Linked DNA regions of Homo sapiens: region 2 is linked to region 1. The links are contacts of gene promoters, found by promoter capture Hi-C in human tissues and cell types (Jung and others, 2019). All regions are on one chromosome and are shown on one strand. The core of a region is centred on a gene start or on the middle of the fragment in contact, and the rest is flanking DNA. Distances in the headings are between cores, read along the strand shown. Region 1 holds the start of HDC (histidine decarboxylase). Region 2 overlaps GABPB1 (GA binding protein transcription factor subunit beta 1).

Evidence for each region. The method cuts DNA at HindIII sites, captures the fragments that hold promoters and counts their contacts. A contact is called where the count stands out against the background at its distance.
Region 2: a contact is called between a fragment that was not itself captured here and the fragment with the promoter of HDC in region 1, in 1 of the 25 tissues and cell types used here (IMR-90 fibroblasts).

What each region holds. Positions count from the first base shown.
Region 1 is chr15:50,263,923-50,270,866 of GRCh38, reverse strand. HDC (histidine decarboxylase) reads left to right here and starts at 5,141. Exons shown (of 12, transcript NM_002112.4): 1 at 5,141-5,274. The coding sequence starts at 5,244. The HindIII fragment of the contact is 21,543 bases long and covers 1-6,944 here.
Region 2 is chr15:50,325,217-50,332,039 of GRCh38, reverse strand. All of the region lies in intron 1 of GABPB1 (GA binding protein transcription factor subunit beta 1), which reads left to right. Among named protein-coding and RNA genes, the nearest start is that of GABPB1-AS1, 26 kb to the left of the region's middle. The HindIII fragment of the contact is 6,963 bases long and covers 73-6,823 here.

The DNA.
Region 1 (6,944 bases), core at 3,892-6,391:
CACCTGTCTTGGCCTCCCAAAGTGCTCTGGGATTACAGGCATGAGCCACTGTGCCTGACCTCTTTTCTTCTTGATGTGAAATTCTTCATAGATTAGACAAATTTGCCCATTGTGCAAATATGTTGCAAATATATTTTCTCAGTTTGTCATTTATCTTGATTTTTCTTATGGTTTTAAAAAAATGTGATTGGATTTATGGTTTCTGGCATTGAACCATAGTTATAAATGTATTCTTTACTCTGAGGTTGTCCAGGGAATCTTCTAATTTTCTTAATTTAATTTTCATCTTTTAAAAACAGCTCTATTGATGCATAATTGATATACAAAAATAGCATATATTTACTACTATTTGATGAGTTTGGACATGTGTACACACCCATGAAGCCATCAGTTAACCTGATGGTGGTGATGGTTTCCTGTAATTTTATGCTTCCATTTTTCACATTTAGATCTGACTTTTCTGGAATTTATCTAAGTGCACGATGTGAAAGATAGATACAGCTTATTTTTCTTTCCAGATGGCTATACCTTGTTCTAGGACAATTTATTAAATAGTCCATCTTTTTCTTTCTGATCTGAGATGCTATCTTTATTATATGCTAAATTTCTGTACATGTTTAAATTTATTTGCTCCTTTTGTTTGTCTCTTTGTACACCAGTATCTACCTCATTGTTCTAATTATTCGAGCTTCAGGATACATTTTAATACTTCTGGGTAGGAACAGAACCTTCTCGTTACTCTTACAAAATTTTCTTCTTTATTCTGGTTTATTTTTCCTAAGAACTTTAAAAGTTGGCACTGAATTCCAAAATAGAACACCCAAAAACCTGTTGATTTTTCCACTGGGATTATGTTAAATTTTCGGGTTAACTTAGGGGAAAACCATTATTTCATGATGTTAAATCTTACTCCATGAGAGAGCATGGTACGTCTTTTCATCTGTACAGGTCTTTTTTTATATTGTTCAGTAGCAATTTAAAAAAATCATCCACTATGTTCAATGAAATAAAAGGCCAGATTTAAAAATTTGGCAAGGAGTTGAAAACTATAAAAAGGAACCAAATAAAAATTCTTTTTTTGCCCCCATAAGGCAGAAGAAATACAAATTCTACAACTGAAAAAATATAATATCTGATATTAAGAAATCAATAAATGGTTTATTATATTAGCTACATTTGAAGAGACAACTAAAAAAGAAAAATATTTTCAAACCAACTCAGAAACAAGAAGATGGAAAATAAAGAATACAATGCTATTTATATTTATATATAATAGTATATATAATACACAAGTTTAACATAGGACTGCATTTGCAGAATAGAAGAGAGATAATGGGGAGATAGCAACACTTGGAGAAAAAATAACGAACACTTTTTTATTTAAAGTGCCTAACTTGGCTGGGTGTGGTGGCTGACACCTGTAATCCCAACACTTTGGGAGGCTGAGATGGGTGGATCATTTGAGCCCAGGAGTTCAAGACCAACTTGGGTAACATGGCGAAACCCCATCTCTACAGAAAAACTCCAAGAAATAAAAAACAATAATCATCTGAGTGTGGTAGCACATGCCTGTCGTCCTTGCTACTCAGGAGGTGGGGGTGGCAGAATTACCAGGGCCTGGAAGTCAAGGCTGCAATGAGCTGTGATCGCATCACTATACTTCAGCCTGGTTGACGAGTGAGACCCTGTCTCAACAAATAAAAATAAAAATAAAAATAAAAATGCCTAACTTGGTGCTTGGCACTTTCTAAAATTGACACATAATATTTGTACCTGTTTATGGAGTATATGTGATATTTTGATACATGCATACAATGTGTGTAATGATCAAATCAGGATATTTAAGATATCCATCATCTCAAACATTTTTCTTTGTGTTCAGAACATTCCAAATCTAGCTATTTTGAAATATACAATAAATTATTAACTATAGTCATCCTAATGTGCTATTGAATATTATTGAATTCCATCTAATTATATGTTTGTACCAATTAACCAATCTCTACTTATTCCTCACCCCCAGCTCCCACCAACCCTTTCCAGTCTCTGGTAACTATCATTTTATTCTCTACCTCCATGAGATCAAATTTTTTACCTCCCATATCGTTGTCAATATTATTATTTTTCCCACCCTGGCTCCTAATGAAGGATTTATTGACAATATCACTGGAATCTAAATCCTCTAGGCCATTTTTTCACCAATGCCCTTATTTTCTTAGGGCTTTTTTTTTTCTTAAATCAACAGTTTTATTGAGATATAATTCCCATTCTATAAAATTTCCTCGTTTGAAGTGTACAGTTTAATAGCTTTTAGTATATCCACAGAAGTGTGCAACCATCACCATAATAAATTTTAAAACATTTTCAGCAGGGCGCAGTGGCTCACGCCTGTAATCCCAGCTACTCAGGAGGCTGAGGCAGGAGAATTGCTTGAACCCAGGAGGCAGAGGTTTCAGTGAGCCGAGATTGCACCACTGCAATCCAGCCTGGGCCACAGAGTGAGACTCCATCTCAAAACAAAACAAAACAAAGCAAAATAAAACGAAGCAAAATAAAACAAAACCAAAACCCAACAATTTTGAACATTTTCATCTTACCACCCTGCCAAAAATCCCTGTTCTCCTTAGCCATCAATCTTCAGCTCCCTACCCACTTCTAACCATGAATCTATTTTGTAGATTTGTCTATTCTCGATATTTCATATGAATGAAATAATATAATATATGGTTCCTTGTGACTAGTTTCTTTCACTTAGTATGTTTCCAAGTTCATCCATGTTTTGGTATGTATCAGTACTTCATTCCTTTTTATCATGGAATAATATTCTGTTGTATTGATATACTACGTTTCATTCATTCATCTGAACATTTGGATTATTTCCATTTTTGTCTATTATAATAATTCTGCTATGAACACCCATGTATACGTTTTTGTGTGGACATGATTTCATTTTCCTTGGATATACACCTAGCAGTAGAATTGTTGAGTCATAAAGAACTCTAGGTTTAGCTTTCTGGGGAGCTTCCAGATTATTTTCCAAAATGGCTGTGCCATTTTACATTCCCACCAGTAAAGTATGAGGGTTCTAATTTTTCCCTGTCTTCACCAATACTTGTTGTTATCTATCTTTTTTATTATAGTCATCATAGTCTGTATGAAGTGATTTCTCACTGTAGTTTTTTCAGTAGTAATTAAAAAATTTCCTACCTATTTTAGCCTAAAATTACTTTCCTGACTCTCTTCAAGGAGCCTGCCAGAGAATTCTCTCTCTCGTGCTGTCTCCCTTATGCCTGGGCATAAGCTCTGATAATGCCCTGTCTGGGAAAACTCTTTTGGCCTTCTCAATTTCTATTACATTGAGAGCCCAAGAACCCATGGTCAGTAACAGGCCAATGAGAAGCCTCCTGCATTAGTCTAGGTGAAGGATAATGGTGGCTTGGACCGGAATAGGGTGGTAGTCATGGAAATGGGGAGAATTTGACAGACTAGATTTATTTTGGAAATAGAACTGAATCTGAACAGATTGAATTGGGCAGGGAGCAGGGAAAGTGAAGGGGAAGGAAGACACCAGGTTTATGCCTTCAGCATTTGGGTGGATGAATGGATGGATGAAAGGATAGATGGATGCATGGATGGTGGTTGGATGGATGAGTGGTTGGATGAATGGACGGTCAAGGGGTGAATAGATGGGTGGATGGAAAATGGAGAGATGATGAACTGAGATGGGGAAGACTAGAAGTGGGGCATATTTTTGGGGAAAGACAGTTTTGCAATACGTTAAGTTTGAGGTGCCTCAGAGTCATAAGAGAGGATTTGTCAGAAAGGCAGTTGGATATAAGATTTTGAAGCTCAAAAGACAGGGAGGGCCTGATGGTATGTTTAAACCTATACGGATATCACATAGGTAACATTTCAAGCCTAAGAAATGGGCCGGGCGCAGTGGCTCACACCTGTAATCCCAGCACTTTGGGAGGCTGAGGCGGGTGGATCACTTGAGGTCAGGAGTTCGAGACAAACCCAGCCAACATGGTGAAACCCCATCTCTGCTAAAAACACAAAAATTAGTGGGGCATGGTGGCACATACCTGTAGGCCCAGCTACTCAGGAGGTTGAGGTGGGAGAATTGCTTGAACCCGGGAGGCAGAGGTTGCAGTGAGCCAAGATTGTGCCACTGCACTCCAGCCTGGGCGACAGAGCAAGACTCCGTCTAAACAAAACAAAACAAAAAAAGCCTTAGAAATGGGCAATGCCACCAAAGCAGAAAGATGAAAGGAGGGCAATGCCCTGAGGTGTGCCAGCATTGGAGGAAACAAACAGCCAGAGATGTAGGAGGAAAGCCCAGAGAAACTGTGAGCTGCAAGGATGAAGTAGTAACAAATAAAATGCCACCAAGAGAACCAGAAGGACGACTGGAAACAAATAAACAAGAAAGACTATTGCATTTAGCAACGTGAAAACGTTGGATTACTTTTTACTCAGAAATCAAACCCCAAGGATAGTGTTTCCCCTCCCTACAGGGGTTTCTGCAGGTCCCTTTACACGCCCCCCTTCTACTTCTTTAAGTGCTAAAAGTGATTAATTTGGGGTGATGTTTTAATTTCTATTCTTTTTGGCTTATAACTGTGTTTTTTCATTCTTTGCAACAACAGATAGTATGTTGTAATAGAAAAATCCATTGTGGTCAATGATAACTTCTGCCTGTTCCTGGGCACAGGGGGCATCACTATTAGTGCCTGTTCCTCCCTCCCTACTGCTGATAAGGAAACAGGGGCAGGAATAATACTAATAATTTGTGCTACTTTTTCTGCATACCCTTGGCCTTATTCTGGTCTACTGAGCTGGGAGCTTGTCTGAGGCTGGAGCTCTATTGTCTGAATCCAGGGGCAGAAAGAACTGAGGGCTCTTTTACGGCATCCACCTGGAGGCTGCCTGCAGGCTTGGGTTGCTAAGTGCACTGCTTAATTTAGAAGCGCCTTTTATCCTGGCTCTCTTGACCAGTCAAAGTTGTGGTCGCTGTTTTCTACAAGGACTGGGGAAAGAAAGGGTGGAATTAATTAAACCTGGAGGAAGGGACTTTGAAGGGCGGAGCTAAGGTCAAAGAAAGAACCCTTTAAATAAAGGGCCCACACTGGCTGCCAGGGAGTGCGCAGGACTGGCAAGAGGGAAGCCGGGCTGCTCCACGCCTTTCACGCCTTCCACCTCCTGCGTGTCCATCTGTGAGAAGGAGCCAGAGCCCAAGGGAGATGATGGAGCCTGAGGAGTACAGAGAGAGAGGTGAGCAACGGGCATCCCTGGCCCTCTTCCCTGCTGCTACTCCTGCAGGAACGGCTGCTGGTGGGTGGCCCTTAGATTCTGGGGTGACATTTGATGGGAGCATTAGAATTGCCTTCTGAGAGTTGGCACCAGCAACATTTTTTTTTCTGCGAAAGGAATGTGGGATCAGAGTGTAAAACTTTTCTCAACCACTCTTTCATTCTCCCTCTCATATACCCACTCTCACATATGTCCACACTACCGTGCCTTGCTTTTCCTCCCCACTTTCCCACAAAATTGAGGATTTGGATCCCTGAGCCACTAGATGGGAAAAGGGGATTGTTCATATTCTGAAATAGAAAAAAATTTTCTCAATATTCTGTAATCACTGCAAATCCTTTCTTTCTTAACATTCATTCCTTCATGTGTGAATCTATCAGCAGTGTTCTTTCATTTAGTCATTCATTTCATAAATATTTAGTAGGTGCCTACTCTGTATCAGGCAAAACCAAGTGGTTATCCAGTTCTCAGGCATGGATCTCCCTTAGCAGGAAAGTAGGTAGTTGCTTAAAAAAGAATCTTGAATGTCTATTTCTATAATGTTTTATATCCTCCTACTCACTAATTAGTGTGCGTTAGCTTATTCCATTGCTTTCCTAAGGCACTGTCAGCTGAGAGCAAGTTCCTGTGGATATTTATCTTCTGAGTGGAACACAAATACATTTAGCACTGTTCCTGGATCAGTGGAGGGTTAGGTCTAGAGCTCTCAGATCTCTGGTGGGGCCCTGCTGGAGAAGAACCAGGATGTGAGAGGGTTGAAGGGGAGCAGAAGGAAGATAGAATGGTGTGGAAATCTACCTTTGTCTCATAAGTTTTGTCTGGGGTTGGTTCTGTTCTTAAGAACTTTGCATAAGCTGATGCAGAGGGGAGAAACTGAGTCCCCTCTCCTAGGTAAAAGCAGCCCAGGGAGTACTAAGGAATGGATGTTGAGACAGACAAAGAGATATGTACACACACACACATGCACACACAGCAACAGAGGCACTGAAGACTGCAATCTGAAAGAATAAATAATTTGCAATAGTTTCAGAGTGTTCAACTTGACTTTTTTTTCCTTCCTTACTCATATGTTCATTCACTTGATACATTTTTTTTTAGCATCTAAAAAATATCCTAAGCACTGAGGTGTTGATGGAGGCAGCAGGAGGGAGAGAAAGTCATTAAGATTTGGTGCCACATTTCCCAGGCCAGGGCAGGGGGCTTGGTCTGGATCCATGGTTGTGCTTTAGGGATTCTGTGAGCCTCAGAAATTATACACAAAGTTCTGTGTATATGTAAGCCTACAGTTTTAATCAGATTCTTGAATTAAGTCCTCATATGAGTCCAAAAAAGATGAATAATAACTGATTCAATGGGGATGGTGAAAAAATAGATTTTTTTGTCCTTTATCGGAACTGGGCATGGAATCTTTCTATCTGTGCTAACAGATATAACTGGTGGGTGTGTGTGTAACAATTTTTGGATACAAAGAGCTATAGAGTTTCTATTGAACCTATAAAATAGTTAATAGATGTTCTGTTTCTGAGAAGGAAAGAAAGGTAGGAGAGACAATCAAAATTGAAGTGGATAAAGGAAGGGGAAAGAAAATGAAACGTTTCACTTTGGCGCTAGAGTTTTGTGCTTTGGAGATT
Region 2 (6,823 bases), core at 2,305-4,804, 63 kb before region 1:
AGCAGAGTGTGATGGTGCATGCCTGTAATCCCAGCTACTTGGGAGACTGAGACGGGAGAATCGCTTGAACCCAGGAGGTGGAGGTTGCAGTGAGCAGAGATCATGCAACTGCACTCCAGCCTGGGCGACAGAGCGAGACTCTATTTCAAAAAAAACAAAAAACAAAAAACAAAAAAAAAAACTGAACGGGACAAATGGAAAGCATAAAATATGATGTTAGATTTAACTTAAATATATAGCAATTAAAGGTAAATTGTCTAATAACCACACAGGTATCATCCAGGCCTGAGGTGCCAGCAGCTCTTGCCTGGAATAATTTTCTAACTAGTACGCTTGTTTCAGTTCTTGCTTTCCACTATGTATTAACCAAATGATAACAGGAGTAGCCTCTTAACAATGTAAATCACATCACAACACTCTCCTGTTTAAAACTTTCTGACAACTTGCTAGTAATCTCAATAAAATTCACTCTTTCTAGTGCCTATAAGGTTCTATGTGATCCAGCCCATTTGTATTTCTATGATTGCATTTCCTGTTATACTTCTTCACTGTAGCTCAGGGCGCTTAACATATGCTGTTCCATTTCCCTGGATCACCAGGGTCAGCCAGAATTCTTAGTTCTAAGTAGTCAAATAATCTCTGGTTAATTTAACAGAAAAGGAATTTATCACAGGAGGAAGCTGCTACCACTACTGTTATTGGAATCTGCTGCCACGTTTGCCACTAAGGGTTCTACACACTCTCGGCTTTTTAAATGCACTATCTTCTACATTAAGGTCCAGCACAGATGCTTCTCTTGTGGAGTGGAGGTCATATGACTGTACCCTTGCCTTATGGGAAGCAAGGAAAGCAAATATTCAGTAGTAGGCAGAGGTTTCTGCCTTCTTTCAAGATGCATATGGAAGGGAATTCCCCAAGGACAAGAAGGTGTTTTGATGCTAAGCAACCAAGAGAATGACTTGTGCATCATGATGCTTCCTTTGGATCCTCCCTAGGTTTGCTTTCCCTTTCATTCCTGTTTCTACTCAGTTGTCACCTCCTCAGAGAGGCCTTTTGTAATCACTTTCTCCAAAATGGCAATTCCCTATCCCTAATCTAGTACTCTGTTTCTTACTCTGCCTTACTTTTTCTTCATACCGTTTATCACTGCCACAACCACCACTACTACTACTACTTATTTACTTCTTTATTGTGAAGTTCTTATCCCAGAACATAAGCTCTTTGCTCTTCATTTACTCAGTAAACATTTGTTTGTTGAATGAAGAGAAACATAGAGATTATGCTATATATTGCTGAGGAAATTTAAGAGCTCATCTTAGAAAGTTTTGTTGGAGAAAAGATCTTTTAAAAATGGGCTTTGATTGAAGTATAGCATTTGGAGAGAAAGGATGTAACCATTCTAAACTGGGAAAATAGCATGAGGGGAGACATTGGGTCTGGAATAAGGTAAGTGTGTATGGGATGAGGAAGGAGAATTGGGTCTGGAATAAGGTAAGTGTGTATGAGATGAGGAAGGAGAATTGTTTAAAATCGGATGACTGTCAGGGCCCTATATTCAGAGAAAAATGGATGAAGTAAATGTGTGAGGCAGTTGATAGAGGGACTCAAATTGCAAGGTGAGATCTTGTGATTGCTAGAGTAAGAGATAACTAGTTTTTTTTTAATTAAAAGTATACAATGGTATTTTCACATAGCCGAGTACTATGCAGCTGTAAAACAGAATGAGAAAAATCTCTATGCAGTATTTTCCAGGATATATATTAAATGGGAAAAAAAGCAAAGTACAGAACAATGTGTGTTTAGTATGTTCCTTTGGTGTGAGAAGTAGGGAATGGTGGCTGGGCATGGTGACTCATGCCTGTAATCCCTGCACTTTGGGAGGCTGAGGTGGGAGGATTGCTTGAGCCCCGGAGTTTGAGACCAGCCTGGGCAACATGTCAAAACCTCGTCTCTCCAAAAATTAGAATTAGTCAGGTGTGGTGATGCGTGCCTGTAGTCCCAGCTACTTCGGAGGCTGAGGTGGGAGGATCACCTGAATCTGAGAGGTCGAGGCTGCAGTGAGCCATGATCACGCCACTGCATTCCAGCCTGGGTGACAGAATGAGACCCTGCCTTCAGGGAAAAAAAAAAAAAGTAAGAGTGGAAGGGTGGAGAATAAGAATATGAATATATGCAAATTTGTTTATGTTGCAAAGAGAAACACTTAAAAGACAAATTAGAAACTAATAAAATTGTTACCCTATGGTAGAAGGTATGGGAAATACATGAAGTAGGGATGGAAATGTGATTTCTGAGTGTGTCTTTTTATTATTTAGCTCTGACTTTTGAATTATGTAAATACACATTCAAAAATTATAGTAAATTTTTTTAAATCCTTAAAATTGAAGACAAACTTGAACAATGGTATCCATGTTTATATCAAAATAGTTATTTAAATACATGGAGAAAAACTATTTCAGGTGACTTTGGAGCTTAATACTAAATGGCATATACGCTAAGGATAAAAGAACTGCAAAAAAACCCCCACCTTTATTCATTTTATTGCTAGTTGTAATATTGGTATTTTAATTTTGACACCATATGATATGTATTGTAGGATAAAGGCAGTAAGTCTTTATGTGAATGATTACGAATCAATAGAGATACAAGTATAAAATCAAAGAAGCTAAGCACAAAACCTATAATTTTGAACCTGAATTATAAATGTCAATATGAATTCATCATTTATAATATACATTTCTTAATTCAATCCATATAAATTTGTTCCTTAGCTCTGTCCACTGAGAGGACCTAGAAACACTTTGTCATCTTGGTAGATGTGAGCTCTTCTAAAACCCTAATTTTGGTCTTTAAATACTTGTACTTGAAAGAATCCAGGACTCCTTGAAGAAATGACTGATTCTGGGTCTGGAGCAGGGGACATGCGTAACCTGGAACATTCTTGTGCCAAAACCAAGAAAGCTTTCAAAGATGGAAAAGCCAAATCGAAAAGGCTCTCCTTGGCCAAAATTGGGACAATTTGAACATCAGAAGAAATAAGGAGAATAATTTCTTGAGAAAATGATTATATAACAATAAATAGAACAAATGGAGGTGGCTAGGTGGCTATTATTCTTTACTCTGAAAATTGGTAATGAAAAACGATAATATATTTGAACTGCCTTTTGAGTGGGCACCATTTTATATTTAGTGAGGGATGCCAAGTAATGTAGAAGGAAATAAAGAATTTGAAAGTGACAATTTGTTACAACCTGTTATGAATAATTGATTTGGGCCAGGATCATTAATGGGTGCTAAAACTGTCAGACAAAAATGTTTGGGAATTGGATATTCCCATGGAGCCAAAGTATGATGCCACAGATTTCTAGTTGGCCTCAAGCTAAAAGAATATAACTTTACATTGGAAGGATTAGACTATCACTAACCTAGCTATTATTCTTAGTATCATTAAAAGTGATCCAAAAAAGATGTGCTTCCTGATGTGCTTCAATATCAAGCATGTTGCTATTGACATTTTTTGTCTAAAATATTAAATCCGAATTTTAATTAACTTCAGAGACTTAGTTTGTAAGACATATGGAAGATCAAGAAATTACATGCTATCTTGAGGAAGCAATAAAAAAAACTCAGTATGAGGTACAGATGAACCGACCATTCTTTTCAACAAATCAATGTCATGAGGGAGAAAAACGGGAGAGGTAGATGGGAGAAAGGGAAAGTGTCCTAGAATAAACTTGATTTAGAGATAGAGTAACCAAATACAACATGTGTAAGCTGTAAAGTACAATTTTTTTTTTTTTTAGAAAGGAATAGGATGAAGCAAGATGACCAGCTTTTAATTTAGAATGTCAATGATGGGTATATAGGTATGTGTATAATCAAACACACAAACACACATATACAGTATATATTATATATATGCATGTATATTTTCTATATTTGAAAATTTGTATAATGAAAATTTAATTTTTTCGTTTATAGACACTTAGGTTATTTGGAATTTCTTTTTTTTTTCCTGTTACAATAATGTTTTTATAAACATATTTCTTTCCTTGTTTATGTGTTTAAGAGTATACCAAGATAGGGTAGCTAGCAGTGGAATCCCTAGGTCAAAGAGTAGGCGCATCTTTTTTTTTTCTTTTGAGATGGAGTCTCGCTCTGTTGCCAGACTGGAGTATAATGCCACGATCTCGGCTCACTGCAACCTCCACCTCCCGGGTTCAAGCGATTCTCCTGCCTCAGCCTCCCAAGTAGCTGGGATTACAGGCATGCACCACCACGCCCAGCTAATTTTGTATTTTTAGTAGAGATGGGGTTTCTCCATGTTGGTCAGGCTAGTCTCAAACTCCTGACCTCAATCTGCCCACCTAGGCCTCCCAAAGTGCTGGGATTACAGGCATGAGCCACCACGCCCGGTCATCCCATCTTAAACTCTACTAGAAGTTGATAAATTGTTCTTCAGAATGATTGTATTGGTGGGGATTTTGGACAAGGGAATCATGAGACGTATGTCTTCCCTACCAGATGGTGAATTCTTTAAGGGCAGGTACTATGTAGAGGTTCAAATATAGAAATGTTTGATTGAATACAATTGTATTTTAGGGGGATTGCCTGGCAGCAGGATGGAGAAACTAGAGTTAAATCAGCTGAGAGACCATTGTGATGTGTAAGGTATGAGGCAATGAGTGTGTAAGACCAGAGGTAGTAGAGAGGAGGGGATGTGTATGAGAACTTCTGAGAAGAAAGGATCAGAATGTATGCATTCTTTTTTTGAGCAGAATATTGATGGTTCATTTTTGTGACTTACAAGAACCAGCAGTTTATTGGCTTCATTTTGTAGGAAGCAGGTAAGTTATACTTCCCTGATTAAATCAAAGGCATCTACTGGCTAATTCCAGTAGAGTTCTAAAAAGCCTTTTCTTTATCTTCTACTTGCACTCTTTTCAAGCCTCCATTTTTTTCCTGGGATACATTCATGTGATTTAAAAACAACTGGTAGTTGAATTGGGCAAAGGCATAGTCAGTGGCAAAGATGAGGAGGATTTAGTAAAATCCATGGGCCCCCTTCATTGTCAAATGAATTTGTGAAATCTTACAAGGATAAAGGCTGTCTCCTCGTATGGTTTTTAGAAGGAAAGCGTATTCAGCACCATAACAGGGGCAATTCATCATGTGCAGTTTTTCTTTCTTTCTTTTTTTTTTTTAAAGACGGGGGTCTTGCTCTTTTGCCTAGGCTGGCGTGTAGGAGTGTGATCATGGCTCAGTGCAGCCTTGACCTCCCAGGCTCAAGCAGTCCTCCCACCTCAGCGTCCTGAGTAGCTGGACCACAGGAGCATGCCACCAACCCTGGCTAATTTTTGTTTTTCATTTTTTTTTTTGAGACGGAGTCTCACTCTGTTGCCCAGGCTGGAGTGCAATGGCGCCGTCTCAGCTCACTGCAACCTCTGCCTTCCGGGTTCTAGCGATTCTCCTGCCTCAGCCTCCCCAGCAGCTGGGACTATAGGCGCATGCCACCATGCCCAGCTAATTGTTTTTTTATTGTTTAGTAGAGACGGGGTTTCACCATGTTGGCCAGGCTGGTCTCAAACTCCTGACCTCAGGTGATCCACCCACCTCAGCCTCCCAAAGTGCTGGGATTACAGGCGTGAGCCACCATACCTGGCTCTTGGCTAATTTTTAAAAATTTTTGGAGAGATTAGGGTTTCACCATGTTGTTCAGTCTGGTCTCAAACTCCTGGGCTTGAACGATCTTCCCACCTTGGCTTTCCAAAATGCTGGGATTATGGGCATGAACCACCATGTCTGGCCTAGATGAAGTTTTTCTAAAAGAATCCACTTGGCTAGGCATGGTGGCTCATGCCTTTTGGCACTTTGGGAGGCCGAGGTGGGTGGATCACCTGATGTCAGGGGTTCGAGACTAGCCTGGCCAACATGGTGAAACGCTGCCTCTACTAAAAATACAAAATTAGCTGGGCGTGGTGGTGGGCGCCTATATTCCCAGCTACTTGAGAGGCTGAGGCAGGAGAATCGCTTGAACCTGGGAGGCAGAGGTTGCAGTGAGCTGAGATCGTGCCATTGCACTCCAGCCTGGGCGACAGAGCCAGACTCTGTCTTAAAAAAAAAAAAACAAAAAAAACCCTTATATCTTATTTTAAAATGTTATGACTTCTTGCATATTCTGAAGTTAGTGGCTTCAAGAAGTTTGACCAGGCCGGGCGCAGTGGCTCACGCCTGTAATCCCAGCACTTTGGGAGGCCGAGGCAGGCAGATCACGAGGTTAGGAGATCGAGACCATCCTGGCTAACAGGGTGATACCCCATCTCTACTAAAAATACAAAAAATTAGCTGGGCGTGCTGGTGTGCACCTGTAATCCCAGCTACTCAGGAGGCTGAGGCAGGAGAATGGTGTGAACCCCGGAGGCGGAGCTTGCAGTGAGCCAAGATCGTGCCACTGCACTCCAGCTTGGGCGACAGAGCGAGACTCCATCTCAAGAAAAAAAAACAAAAAAAAAAGTTTGACCAGTGATTCTAGAACAGCTCTCTCCAGTAGAAATATAGTGAACCACAGATGATGATGATTTTTTTTTTTTGTCATTGATTGCTCCATTCTACATCAGCAGAAACAGAACCAGACAGGGAGTGACGAGATTTGCACCTGGGTCACACAGCTGATCTGTGGCAGAGGTGGGGTCTCAACTTCTGGCTTTTAGCCGTGCCTTTTTTTTTTTTTTTTTTGGCATAACATCATATTGCCTTAGTGCCCTCAAAATATTATTTGTCCAGTTTGTAGTTACTGACTATTGGAGGCCAAGTCTTGATCTAG